Linked DNA regions of Homo sapiens: all the other regions are linked to region 2. Evidence: promoter capture Hi-C in human tissues and cell types (Jung and others, 2019). All regions are on one chromosome and are shown on one strand. The core of a region is centred on a gene start or on the middle of the fragment in contact, and the rest is flanking DNA. Distances in the headings are between cores, read along the strand shown.

What was found. Contacts are between HindIII fragments. The study calls those that stand out against the background at their distance.
Region 1: a contact is called between a fragment that was not itself captured here and the fragment with the promoter of OSR1 in region 2, in 4 of the 25 tissues and cell types used here (H1 embryonic stem cells, IMR-90 fibroblasts, aorta and 1 more).
Region 3: a contact is called between a fragment that was not itself captured here and the fragment with the promoter of OSR1 in region 2, in 1 of the 25 tissues and cell types used here (aorta).

The regions. Positions count from the first base shown.
Region 1 is chr2:19,124,113-19,128,080 of GRCh38, reverse strand. No RefSeq gene overlaps it. Among named protein-coding and RNA genes, the nearest start is that of LINC01376, 99 kb to the right of the region's middle. The HindIII fragment of the contact is 7,121 bases long and covers 1-3,968 here.
Region 2 is chr2:19,356,021-19,360,165 of GRCh38, reverse strand. It overlaps OSR1 (odd-skipped related transcription factor 1), which reads left to right and starts at 1,543. Exons shown (of 3, transcript NM_145260.3): 1 at 1,543-1,825. RefSeq lists enhancers at 1,671-2,199, 2,865-3,829, 3,830-4,145. The HindIII fragment of the contact is 12,145 bases long and covers 1-4,145 here.
Region 3 is chr2:19,495,045-19,499,078 of GRCh38, reverse strand. All of the region lies in intron 5 of LINC01808 (long intergenic non-protein coding RNA 1808), which reads right to left. Among named protein-coding and RNA genes, the nearest start is that of LINC01808, 28 kb to the right of the region's middle. The HindIII fragment of the contact is 4,827 bases long and covers 1-3,668 here.

The DNA.
Region 1 (3,968 bases), core at 453-2,952, 230 kb after region 2:
ACTTAAAATCTGTGCTGACTTTGAAAGTGACACCATATGAAGTTATTTATAAGACATAGGGGGGTTTGTGTTTCAGGCCAGGTTTTGCTAAAGCAGTGAGCTGGGAGTAGAATGGACTAGGGGTTGAATAACCACCTTAGCCGCAAGGATGACCACCACTCATACAAAAGCAGTCTCCCAGGAGTGGCCTCCTTTTCAGCCTTACTCAATTAACAGCACTGTGCTGGGGCACTTGGCAAAGCACGGGGTCACTGGAGGGCTCCCTGGGAAGCACAGGTCCTGTGGGAAGTGAGCCAGGTCCTCACACCTGCCTCTTTCTCTGCCAGCACTCCTCTCTGTCTCCTTATAGACTTCTTCGCATTTCTTTTCAGAGTGTTCTATTTACACAGACACCATCCAAACTCATCATGCAAATCTTTGCACTCACTTAATCCAATGCCCAGCACATTTGAAGATGTAATAAATATCTAGACTAATCTTACTGAACTATCATTGTCAACATGGTTATCATCATCATTAGAATTTATTTAATCTTTACAACATTCTTTTCAGTTCCTTAATTAGGATAAATCCAAAGTTCATCTCATACATATAACTGGTAAATATGTTATTTACAGTTTGTCTTACATGACAGAGTCTATATTAACTGAACAATTTGATATCAGAGAATTCTCTCAGCATGGTGAAAATATTCCTTTTGTTGCTGCTATAAGTTTTGTTGAGATATCCTGAAATAAGGTAACAGGTATCTGGGCAGCTTTGTTCAGACAATGTTGCCTTGACCAGGCTGTTTTCTGTTGGGGGATGATCTACTGTCCAAGTGTGTGTATCTGGTCTTTCAAACTGTGTGGTGACCTCTTTAAGAGTATAAATCTTATCTCCTATTTCTGTACTCTTTTCCAGTATCTAACAAAAGACTTCACACTTAGTAAGTGTTCAGAAAAAACTCTGCAATAAATGAGGGAGCCTGAGAGCAGATGGGGTTTGGGTTGGACCAGCATTGTCTTCTGTTGAGCATAAAGACTGGTAATTCTGTAGGCCTCTCTACAGTCATACGTATCCATAAAACCCCATTTCTCCATACATGAAAACACACTCGACACAGCTGATGTGCATGCATCTCTCTACACACTCACACCTGTGCAGGCATGTGTATCCTAGTATCCCAGTATGCTCCGTTTCTGACATTCACTTCCTCTGCACTCAAAACAAGTCCCTACCCTGCCCACCACAAAGCCAGGCTCACAGCCAGGCACACTTTGTACACAGACACACGCCAACACAAACACATGCAAACTTATAAAGAGGCCAGCACTCGTGCACACACATGCTACACACATGCACACCTGCATATACTTCAGGTGTGTTTGAAGCTGAGACTGAAAGTTGGGAAGCACCCTGAATCCCTGCCTGTGTGGCAGTCACAACGTTATAAAATATGTCACACTAAAAAAAATTCTCTTTAGCCCCTGAGGATTGCAGGTTGACTTTAATGTTTTCAAGGACCCCGAATACTGACTCTTCTCTAACTTTGCTCAGGGCTAGTTCCTGAACAATACATAAATTGTATTGGAATTAACGAGAAGAATACACTGTGTTCTCTAAGTGCCTTTCGGAGTAGTGTCTCAAATGCTCAAGACAATATTACTATTGTCTCCAAAGCTCAAGCCTGTTGTTTTATCTTTGAGGAAGTTTATTCCTAGATAGAGATCTTCATAACACCAGCTGGATATGGAGACATCGACAGGCTGGGTAGCATTGTTGCCGCCTTATAAGAGCACCATTTTAAGAGCACCATTTAAAAACCAATGACTTTTCTCCTTAGCAATACAGCACTTGCCCTGCTCAGATCTGCCTTTCTGGGAAACCTCAGGCTTTAGGAATTGGCCCAGTTACTGGCAGGATCCACAGAGTTGTAAAGACCAATGGGAAGGGAAAGAGTTTAAACTTTAACTTCTTCAGACATCATGGTACCATCACGAAAATGAATCAGAAACACCCACTGAGAACATTTTTCACAGTCACTGTGCAGATGACAGAAGATAAGGAATGTTAGCAAAGGTGGAAAGTTCTGTACTGATAGCATCTTAGACCTGTGCGAATGGAGACAGTACTTCTCGGAAGTTTGCTGGGGAGTTCACATCACTTGTTTTCTTCTGACTTGCAGACTCAGAAAGAAAAACCTATTCCTAAATCACTCTTAAGAGAAATATTCTCCCCTCCCTCCTCCTAGTTTTGGAATGCTAAGCCTAAAGGGCCTCAACTTAATTCCTTTCTCTCTCTCTCTCTCTTTCACTCTCTCTCTCTTTAACAGGAGAAGAAAAACCAAGAACACAAAAAGAGAGGGGCTTATTCACAGTGACCTTATAATATAGGGGCCAAATTAAAACTTGAGCTCAAAGTCCCAGACTCTCATTTTAGGTTTTATTTTTATTTTTTCCTAATCAGGCAATGTTATTTTCCACTACTCATTTAATTCTCCCCCTTTACCAATGGGAATTAGCCATCTTTTCAGTGAAAATGGTTGTTGACTTGGCTTAATTTTGTGCTACAAGCTTTTAATTTACTATCACATTTACTGTAACGATTTGAATAGGGTTTTGATGAAATCTTAAGTGAATTTGGTGGGGGAGCAGTTAAAAATGAATTCGATTGGGATATTTAAAAAGTTTTTTTTTTTTTTTTCATTCTAGAGACCTGGGGGATTTTAGAACAGGGCTTTCAAGGTAATGAAGGAAGAGAATCTTCTTTGGACTTCTTTTTGCTCCAGATGCGGAGAAGGCAACTTCCCGGAGTCTCTACCAGTGAGAAGGCTACAGAATCATGGGCGTAAGTATGCATGGCTGGGCATATCCTGGGGTTTGCTGTCTTGTACCAAAGACCGGAAATCAAAGGCCACTTGAATTGTTAAGACACATCTGGCATGGAGTCATGTTGCTGTCTCCAGACTTGACCTGCCAGACTCTAGTCTCTGGGTAACACTTTTCTACCCACTGGCAGAGCTGAACAGGTTTTTGGAGGCCATCAGATCCAACCCATTTTGTAGGTGGAACAATTTAGGGCCATAGAAAGTGTGGTATTCAGAATAATCCCTTCACCTCCTCTACAAAGTTGTGCATGTCCTAATCCCCAGAGTCTGTGAATATAGCCAAAGAGAATTTGCAGGTGCAATTAAGTTAAGGATCTCGAGATGGGGAGATAACCCTGGATTATCTGGGGGGTCCAATGTAATCACAAGAGTCCTCATAAGTGGAAGAGGGAGGCAGGTGAATGAGAGTCAGAGAAGGAGAAGTAACTGCAGAAAGAAAGGTCAGAGGGTTTCGATTGCTGAGTGAAGATCACCAGCCAAGGAAATGAATTCTCCACTAGAACCTCCAGAAGGAATGCAGCCCAGCTGGCACTTTGATGGTATCCCCGTGAGACCCCTGTCAGACTTCTGATCTCTGGAACTCAAAGATGAATTTGTGTTGCTTTAAGCCACCAAATTTGTGATAGTTTCCTATGGCAGCAATAGAATACTAATACAGGTAGAAACAAGCAAAAGGGACAAGGACCTGCCTTCTTTCTTTTTCCTTTTGCCTGGAAACCATCTCTCCTCATGCCCTTTCTTTGCTTGGCCAACTTCTTTCCTCCTCGAGCCTTAGCTAAGGACGTGTTGTAGCAATGCGTCCCTCAGACTAGATTCAGATAGTTTCTCTGGGTTGTGCTTTTTCTATGAAGTTACTCACCACTGTGGACTGTACTGACTTGCACGTTCATCTCTCCCAGCATGCTGCAGAGTCCTTGTAGGCACGAACCAGGTCTTATTCATCTTCTGATCACAAACATCTAGTGCAGGAGAGCTTTGAGTCATTAGTTTTGAATGAATATGTCAGAGAGTAATGGAAAGCTGTTTTCAAACCCAGGTGTATTAGAGCTTTCTAGCTGGCATTAAAGAAGAATGCATGCATTTCTTCTGGGGTATTATT
Region 2 (4,145 bases), core at 294-2,793:
AGCAACTGCTAAGATTCCAGGAGCATGGACAAACTTATGTGAATCTCTTACTTCTGCACTAACCTGAGGCACTGGGTAAAAGCTGTTCGTTGGAGCAAAGATTGCACCCCCTCTTACTCCTCCTCAAACAAGACGAAGTTACCCAGGGGTTAGAGGCTAGATTCTGTTCTAAAGGCCTGGGGATATAAGGAAATCCTCTTTCAACTATGCCTTTGAGGGAGGGGAGTCTTCATTACCATCTCCCTAGGTCAGGTATTACAACCTTCTTCACCTCCCAAGAAAATCAGATTAGCTTTGCAAACCAAAGCTGGAGATAGCAGAAGCTCCTCGGGAGAGAAGCAGTACAGTACTTAGGGACCCACGGAATCTAGGATCCAGCTCCAAGAGTCACTCAGCAGCAACTCTGGGGCAAAGGCAGAGAGTGCAGTTGTGTGATCTGGACCCACACAAGTCCCAGGAAACCAGTGACTCCTCCTTGCCAAACCCAAGGCCTGGAAGGGTATTCCAGAAAGGCATTAGGGAGGGATTGGGCTGGGGTCAGCCGGAGGTCAGCTTTCAGAGATGGGTAGTCAAGGGGGTGATGGTACCCTCCATAATGCCTAGGCAATGAAGATAGAATTTTTAATGTCCAGAACTCTGATTCCTTTCCGATTAAAAACTCCACCTGAACCAGCTCCTTGACTCAGAGGCCCTGGAACTGACAACTTTGCAGCTCGTCTAGCTTGCCAGTGCGGCTCTCTAAACTCTGATCCATCCTAAAACAAATATGTAAGTAGAGAGTGCCACTGTGCATTGGGGTGAAATCTCAGAGAGTTCTGGGCCCCAGGAAAATAACTTTCCTGACCTCCTTTCCCTACTCTTTGTTCTTTCTACTGGACTCCAGAACTTAGGGTCTGGGGTCAACCATAAGCACTCAGATGTTACAGCTCGCTTGCTTCGGTGACCCTGGCCCTCCCGCACCAGGAATTAACCAGCGCTGCCTGGGTTAACACCCTGGCCCCGAGCACGCTTGGATAGCCAGGAGCTGCTCCACACTCGGGGTCTGCCGCCTCTGGAAAGAGATTCTGGGAGGAGATGCGACTCTGTCAGGCGCCAAAGTGCGTTGAAACCCAAGCCGCGGTGTGGGGATCCCGGTGCACAGAGCTACTGCCCCTCCCTCCCTCCTCCCAAAGAGCACGGGCTGTGTCCTAGGAGCCCAAGTATAGGACCTCGAAACGTGCGGTGCCAGCCCGCTCTCATCTGCTAGGGACCGTTTCCTCCAGTGCGCCAGGCGTGCCGCTCTGGACCTAAAAAGGCAGCAGGGGTCGCGCGGGACTGAAGAGGAGGGGACGCAGGTTGGGAGAGGCCGGGTCCAAGCGAGAGCAGCTGCCAAAGTCTGCTGCCCGGGTCAGCAAAAACTTTGTCTTTCATTGCGCAGGCGCAGGGCAGGGTTGGGGGGCAGGGGAGGGAGGGGAGGAATCCTGAGGCAAGGGGCGGGGGTGGGGGTGGTGGAGGAGGGAGGGTGGTGGATTAAAATAAGTAGGCGGCTCGGTGCTAAGGGATGAGTGAGTCGGAGCTCGGCCTCTCCCCGGCACGTTCTCAGCTGCTCCTGGTTCAGACCCAGCGAGGGAGCCGCGAGCGAGGCTCACCGTCCCCGGCGTGCAGGATCCGGGGCTGCTGAGCGCTCGCTCCCGCGTGTCCGGCGCTTGGAGTCCCCGCGGCAGGAGAGGAGTCGGGACACTAGAGCTCCAGGGGCGCCTGTGGGCTCCAGGGCCTCCGGCTTCCCCAGTCCCCTTCAGCTAAAGCCCCAGAGACGTGCTCAGCCCCAGGACCTCTGCGGAACAAGGTAATTGCAGTCCTGGGCGCCTGGGCTCAGCAAAGCGAATGCGGGCAGGACTCCCAGGTTCCTTGTCACTGCTCGGCGGGTGCCTCCTCTCTCTCAATGCCCCTGAAGGAAGCTCTTGCCAAACGAATGCTGTAGGACTTTTGTGAAAGTGAGAGCAGGGTGGTTGGGGGTGCTGCCTCAGGACTTCCTGCGCGGGGTCCTCGGCCTCTGACCGCTGGGGATTAAGGGGGGCGGGCCTCCGCTACTGCGGCCAGCCCGCCCGGCTCTGCGGAATCACGGGCGAGGTGCCCACGGACTTTGAAAGTCAATCTGTGGGCCCCCTTTAAGAAACCAGAGCAACTTCAGCGGGCACAAACTTTCCTGAGACGCGCTCCTAGCTCTGGCTGACGCCCAGGTTGACGAAGAAGGAAGGGAGAGGGAGTGAATGGCCACAGCCGCAGCCGACCGCGCCAGGGACAGGTGCATGCCCCAGCTCGGTAGCGCTTTCGTTCAAGTTTGTCTTTTGAGGAGTTGCGCTCTAGTATGAGGCCGCCTAGACCCGAGAGCGCAGGGCTGCGAGTCTGAACCCCGCCTTGCACTCGCGCTCTAACTTAGGGATATTCTCCATAGGATGATTGCTCTGTGTCGTCAAGGCCTGGAGCGGAACCCTTGATTGTCCTGGTGCAGGGAGGCAATGCAGTGGGCGCAAGCACTGCTTTCCAATTCGAGACCCACACACAGCACTAGTGGAAACTCTGTGGAGCCCTAGGGTCTCCGGGCTGGGGACAGGAAAAGTTCTGTTACTCCCCTGACTGTCCGCTAATCCAGCCGTCAGGAGAGAAAGAAGGGGGAAAGGGGTGAAGGGCTGCCTGCTGAACTAATTTCTCCTCGGAAATGTCTCGGAGAAGAATGAAAAACCACGTTTAGTCCTTTTTCAGCAGCTCAGGCAGTAGCGGGTTGGGTTCTCAATGTGTAAAGTAGCCGCAAGGGTTTCTTTGTTGCCACAATTTGGTAAATTTCACCCAGGCTAAGAGCTGCGCATTGGCTCTGCGGAACAAAACCACGTGCAAGGCTAGGTGTCCCAGGTTCACAACCCCCTAGGGAAGAGAAGCGCTGGAGGGGACTAGCAGCGACCGGCGGCGTGTAGATGTTCCATCCCAGGCTCCTCGAGGTAATTGCTGTTTTATTAAGATTGGGGAATGGATCACCGAGGACGCAGCGGACATTTAAGTGCAGCCGGATGACCGCCTTGCCAATGGGTTCGTTAGATCTCGTTTGTTGGGAGAATGCTATAGAAGTATCCGGTGCCGGTCAGTCCTCTTCACGGGGGTCCGGACGCCTGTCACCACTCGTTGGAGATTCGATGTCAAGGCTGATTTTCTTGGGTTGCTGCTGGGCTCCCCCAGGCGCAAACTCGTGGAGTTCGCTCCCGTTCTCATTAATGCAAGCAGTTAACTTGCTCACGCTCAATTAGCCCCGAATAAACCACTTTAATAGACTCTGCACACTTCATTAATGCCCAGCATAGGACTGGCCGCAGACCTGGGATTGGCGCTCCACCGCGCGAGGGACGCGAGTGCCCGCACTGCGCAGGGACTCGGGATCCCGAGCGCGAATTGCGTCTGCTGTGCGTGGTCGGGTCCCCTTATTCTTTCCCGCAGGTCCTGAGGCCCAAGCTGTTTGAGGAATGGGTGCCTAGCCTGGGGAAGGGTTTTCCATCCTGTGTTTAAAGATCGAAAGTATTCGCCCTGGGGTTCCGCGGTCTGGGAAACCGGAGCCGGAGGAGCCGGGGGCTCACTCATCCTTTCTGGCTGGAGAGGCTAGGGTGAGACTGTGTTTTTCTCTTAACCGACCTCCTGAAACCGGATCGTGCTTTCGGCCCATTCTTGATACTAGTGTAAAGAGCCACGTTTCGAATGAATTTCGTCCTGGGGAAAGTCGTTGGCGGGAGCCTGGGGAGCACTGGCTTCCGAATGCTTCAGAAAACAAGGAACGGGCTGGGCCGCGGAAGAAAATAAATGTAGTGTTGGGGAAAACAAGATCGGGCAGATAGCCCGGAAAGGTTGGCTCCCAGGAACCATTATAGCTGCAAGCACTCCCCCTTCCCGGCACCCCCTACGGAGCCCAAGACGGCTCCGGTCTTGGCTCTAAGGAAGAAGGCGAGGAAAGGCCTAGCGAGGTTGGTGGTTTCTCCCACCCAGGCACGGAGCGGGTTCGGGACAGTGTGCAGGCCAGAGTCCCACAGCCACGGCCGCTGGCTTGGCCTTGGATAGGCCAAGCACCCAGAGGAGCAGGGGGAGGCCTCCGCGGCGCCCAGCGGGGTCCGGGACCCGGAGATAAG
Region 3 (4,034 bases), core at 6-2,505, 140 kb before region 2:
AAATTATTATAACTGCATCTATACTCAATAGGCATGCAAATTATAAAATGAAGATCCAAATCAGCCTTTCAGAAGTTAAAATTATAATGGCTATGGCAAAAATACACTGTATTAAGCTAACTGCAGATTAGATGTTACAGAAGACTAGATAGTGAACATGAAGACATAACAACAGAAATGATCCAAAATTAAATAGAAAAAAAAGGCTAAAAGTAAAATGAAGTATCAGTGAGTTGTAGGAAAACTCCAAAGAAGTGAGCATCTGTGTAATTGGAGCTATGAAGTAGAAAGGAGACAGAAGTATTTGAAGCAATCATGGCTGAATACTTCCCAAATGTAATAGAAACTCTAAAGCCATTTATTTAAGATTTCAATAAACCCCAAGCTTGAGAAATATTATAATAGCATAGTTCAAAAGCAGTGATTAAGAAAAAAAATCTTAAAAGCAGCCAGAAGACACATAGGAAGAAAGACTAGACAGATTTTTTATCAGAAACTTGTCTTCATCAGCTAGAAGACAGTGGAACAACATAAAGACAAACCAAAACAAAACCCCAAACTACCTGTTAACCTAGACTTATATATCTAGTAAAAATATCTTTAAAAAATAACCCCCCCAAAAAAAGACTTTTTCAAATATGCAAAACCTGAAACACTTAATCACAGTGGACCTGCACTACAAGACACATTTGACAAAATTCTTCAGACCTAAGATAAATGGTACTAGATAGAAAGGGAAGTCTACACAAAAGAATGAATAGCCCATAAAATGGTAACCACATAAGATTTTTTCCTATTATCTAAATCTCTTTAAATAATTCTTGACTGCTTAAAAATAATAACAACATAGTGTGATGTTTATAATAGGTATAAAAGTAAAATGTATGACAATAGCACAAAGGCCAAGAAGGAAGAAATGGAAGTAAACTATTATAAAGTCCTCTTACTATACATGAAATGGTATAATATCTCTTGAAGGTAGAGTGTAATAAGTTAATATGTATGCTTTGAACCCTCAAGCAACCACTGAAATGAAAAAGACAAAAAAGTTATAGCTAATAAGCTAACGAAGGAAATATAATTGAATAATTTACAAAATTCAAAAACTAGAAACAACCAAATGTCCATAACTAGGTTAATGGATAAGCAAATTGTGTTATATCTATTAATGGAATAATTCTCAGCAATAAAGAAGGAATCACTGAAACATAAGACAACATAGATGAATCAGAAAATAATTCCACTGAGTAGCTAAATATTGAGAATACATTGAAATATCCATTTATTAAGAGGTTTGGGTCCTGTTACTCTTCTTTCAACGTCCTTCACACTATATATAGGGAAACACAAGCCAGGATGCAAACATCCCAGGGTTGTAAAACAATCTTTGATAATGGTCTTTTGGGGAGTGGTGAGGTTCTGCGTTTTGTGTTCTAATCTTACATTTGCCATTAACTAGTTTTGGGGCAATGGGAAAGTCATTTTCCTTATTGGCTTTGCTTCTGCATTTGTATTAATAACATAAGGGGATTATAAGAGGTTTAAGGCCCCATCAGCTATGAGTCACTAAACCACAACAGGTCTTGTAAATCCAGACACAGAACTGAACTATAGAACGGTTGGGACCCCAAATCAGGTGTTTTCATGTCACACACTTCACTTGATTTTTTCGTGTAGTTGATTGCACACTTATTTTGTTTCTCTTACCAGCCAAGTGTTTCTGAGAGTCAGGGCAGCTCTGCTCTTCCCTTCCTCACCCAGCTCTGTGCTTCGATGATGATCCGGTCTAAGGTAACATTGGCTGACTTGACTAACTCATGAAAAATAGGGGTAATAGAAGCACTGAGTGTCTCCTCTGCAATTGTGCTGCAGTGTTGTGCAGTTTGAGATGACTAGAATAGGAATCAGGAGACTTGGGCTTTAGTCTGAGTTACCTAGTCTCAGTTTCCTCATCCATAAAATAACTCCTGGTGTATTCATTGCAGTGAGTGGTTGTTAGAATCAGATAGGATGATGGATGTGAAGGCATTTTGTAAAATGTAAATCATTCTGCAGAATTAAGGGAAGACTATTATTTCTAAATGTGAATTTGCAAAGAAACACCAGCTGAAGTAGCTAAGACTTTAACATGGGGCTGCTCTTGAGCTAACTCAAAGTGGGTGCCAGAGGCGACTTTGGCTTTGCTTTTTATGTAACCAAAGGGAATGATTCATTAGCTGCTGTTACGAGGCCTATATATGTAGCACCACCTGGGTGTGTGGTCAACAGTGCCAAAGTTATTTGGTCACCGGAATTTGTGGGAAATACCTGGAGGACATCACTTGTACTTGGTGGGTGGTGATAGAAAACTTCCTTCTGAAGGACGAGATTAGGTCTGATGCTGATATCTTTTAGAAACCCCGTTGAAAGTGAATGAGTGAAAGTTAGAGCATGCCTTCCCCAGGTCCTGGAGAAGAATGTCTTACAGCCTGCAATACAGGCAGAGTTGGGTCCATTCTACTCCCAAGGTGCCCCATTCAGGTCTGGATTTGCAACATTATGCTGTGATTGTCTTCTGCTTTTGCTCTACCCAATTAACCATAAATTCTTTAACATCAGGGACTGAGTTTTAGGCATTTAATTTTCAGCCTTTGAGACCTATGAGTGTTGAGTAGGTGCTCAAAAAACCTTTGGTGACCCCAAACGAAAACCAATGGATAAGATATAAGACTAGGTTCTTCATCTTGCAAAGCTTGTGTTCTGATGGCAAAGGCAGATATATGACCAGATATTTATTGAGTGATGTGCTATGTGTGAGAACAGAAGCTTCAGAGAAGACTTTTTGGCAATAGGAGATGATACTTGAGTGGCATTTTAAAGGATGAGAAGGCTGAGCCAGGGGAAGAACGGAAGGAAACATGGTTCAGGAGGTTCCTGTAATATCACACTCTTAATGTGCTTAAATATTGCAAGATATTTTTGCATCAATTTTCTTAATTTTCACAGTAATTTACATGTGAGTAGGATAATCCTTAGTGCCACATTCATAGATCAGGAAACCAAAATCCAGATAGGTTAAAGGACTTGAATAGGTCACACGGCATGTTGGGGGAGTGTGTAAATTAGAATTCTCTTAACTTTTACTTCTCTGTCATTCATCCCAGAACACATGGCTTTATGTATTAGTTCATGGACTTTCACTCTCCATTAGAGCTACTCTTTTGAGTTTATTGGAAGCAGTTTCCAGAGATAATTATAAACTGGGCAAAAAATAAACTGCTTATCAGAGTTTGGAATGGGGAGATTTATTTGGTAGCTTATACTTTACTTACAAACAAAAGAAATTCATTGCTTACAATGTAGAGCCCAAGCACAGTAAAGACAAAAGAGTCCAGTTCAAAGTGACATTAACAAGCCCAGGGCATAAGGCGAGAAGAGCTGATTTTGCCAGTTGTTGCCAAATATTTGAAACTTAAAAAAAAATTCTTTTGAATTTGAAAAAACTCAAACCTTCTTTTGCAGGACTCTTCTCCTCTATTTCCTTCATTTCTAAATTTAAGAACACTTAAAGGAAAATCAAATCCATGGGATTAGCATACATTTAAATGATACAACAGCATTGTATAAGAGCTAATTAATGTCTAAGAGTCATAAAGCCTTTGATCTAAATGAAAGTTCATTTGTCAGCTACAACTCCAAAATATTATTATTATTTTTTGAGATGGAGTCTCACTCTGTCACCCAGGCTGGAGTGCAGTGGTACAATCTTGGCTCACTGCAACCTCCTCCACCTCCCGGGCTTACGCAATTCTTCTGCCTCAGCCTCCTGAGTAGCTGGGATTACAGGCGCATACTACTACGCCCGGCTAATTTTTGTATTTTTAGTAAAGATAGAGTTTCACCATGTTGGCTAGGCTGGTCTTGAACTCCTGACCTCGTGATCCGCATGTCTCGGCCTCCCAAAGTGCTGGGATTACAGGTATAAGTTCTTAATGATCATGGACTTTCTCAGATTAAGTGTGTGTGACCGAAAAGCAGGTCATTTTAATGATCTG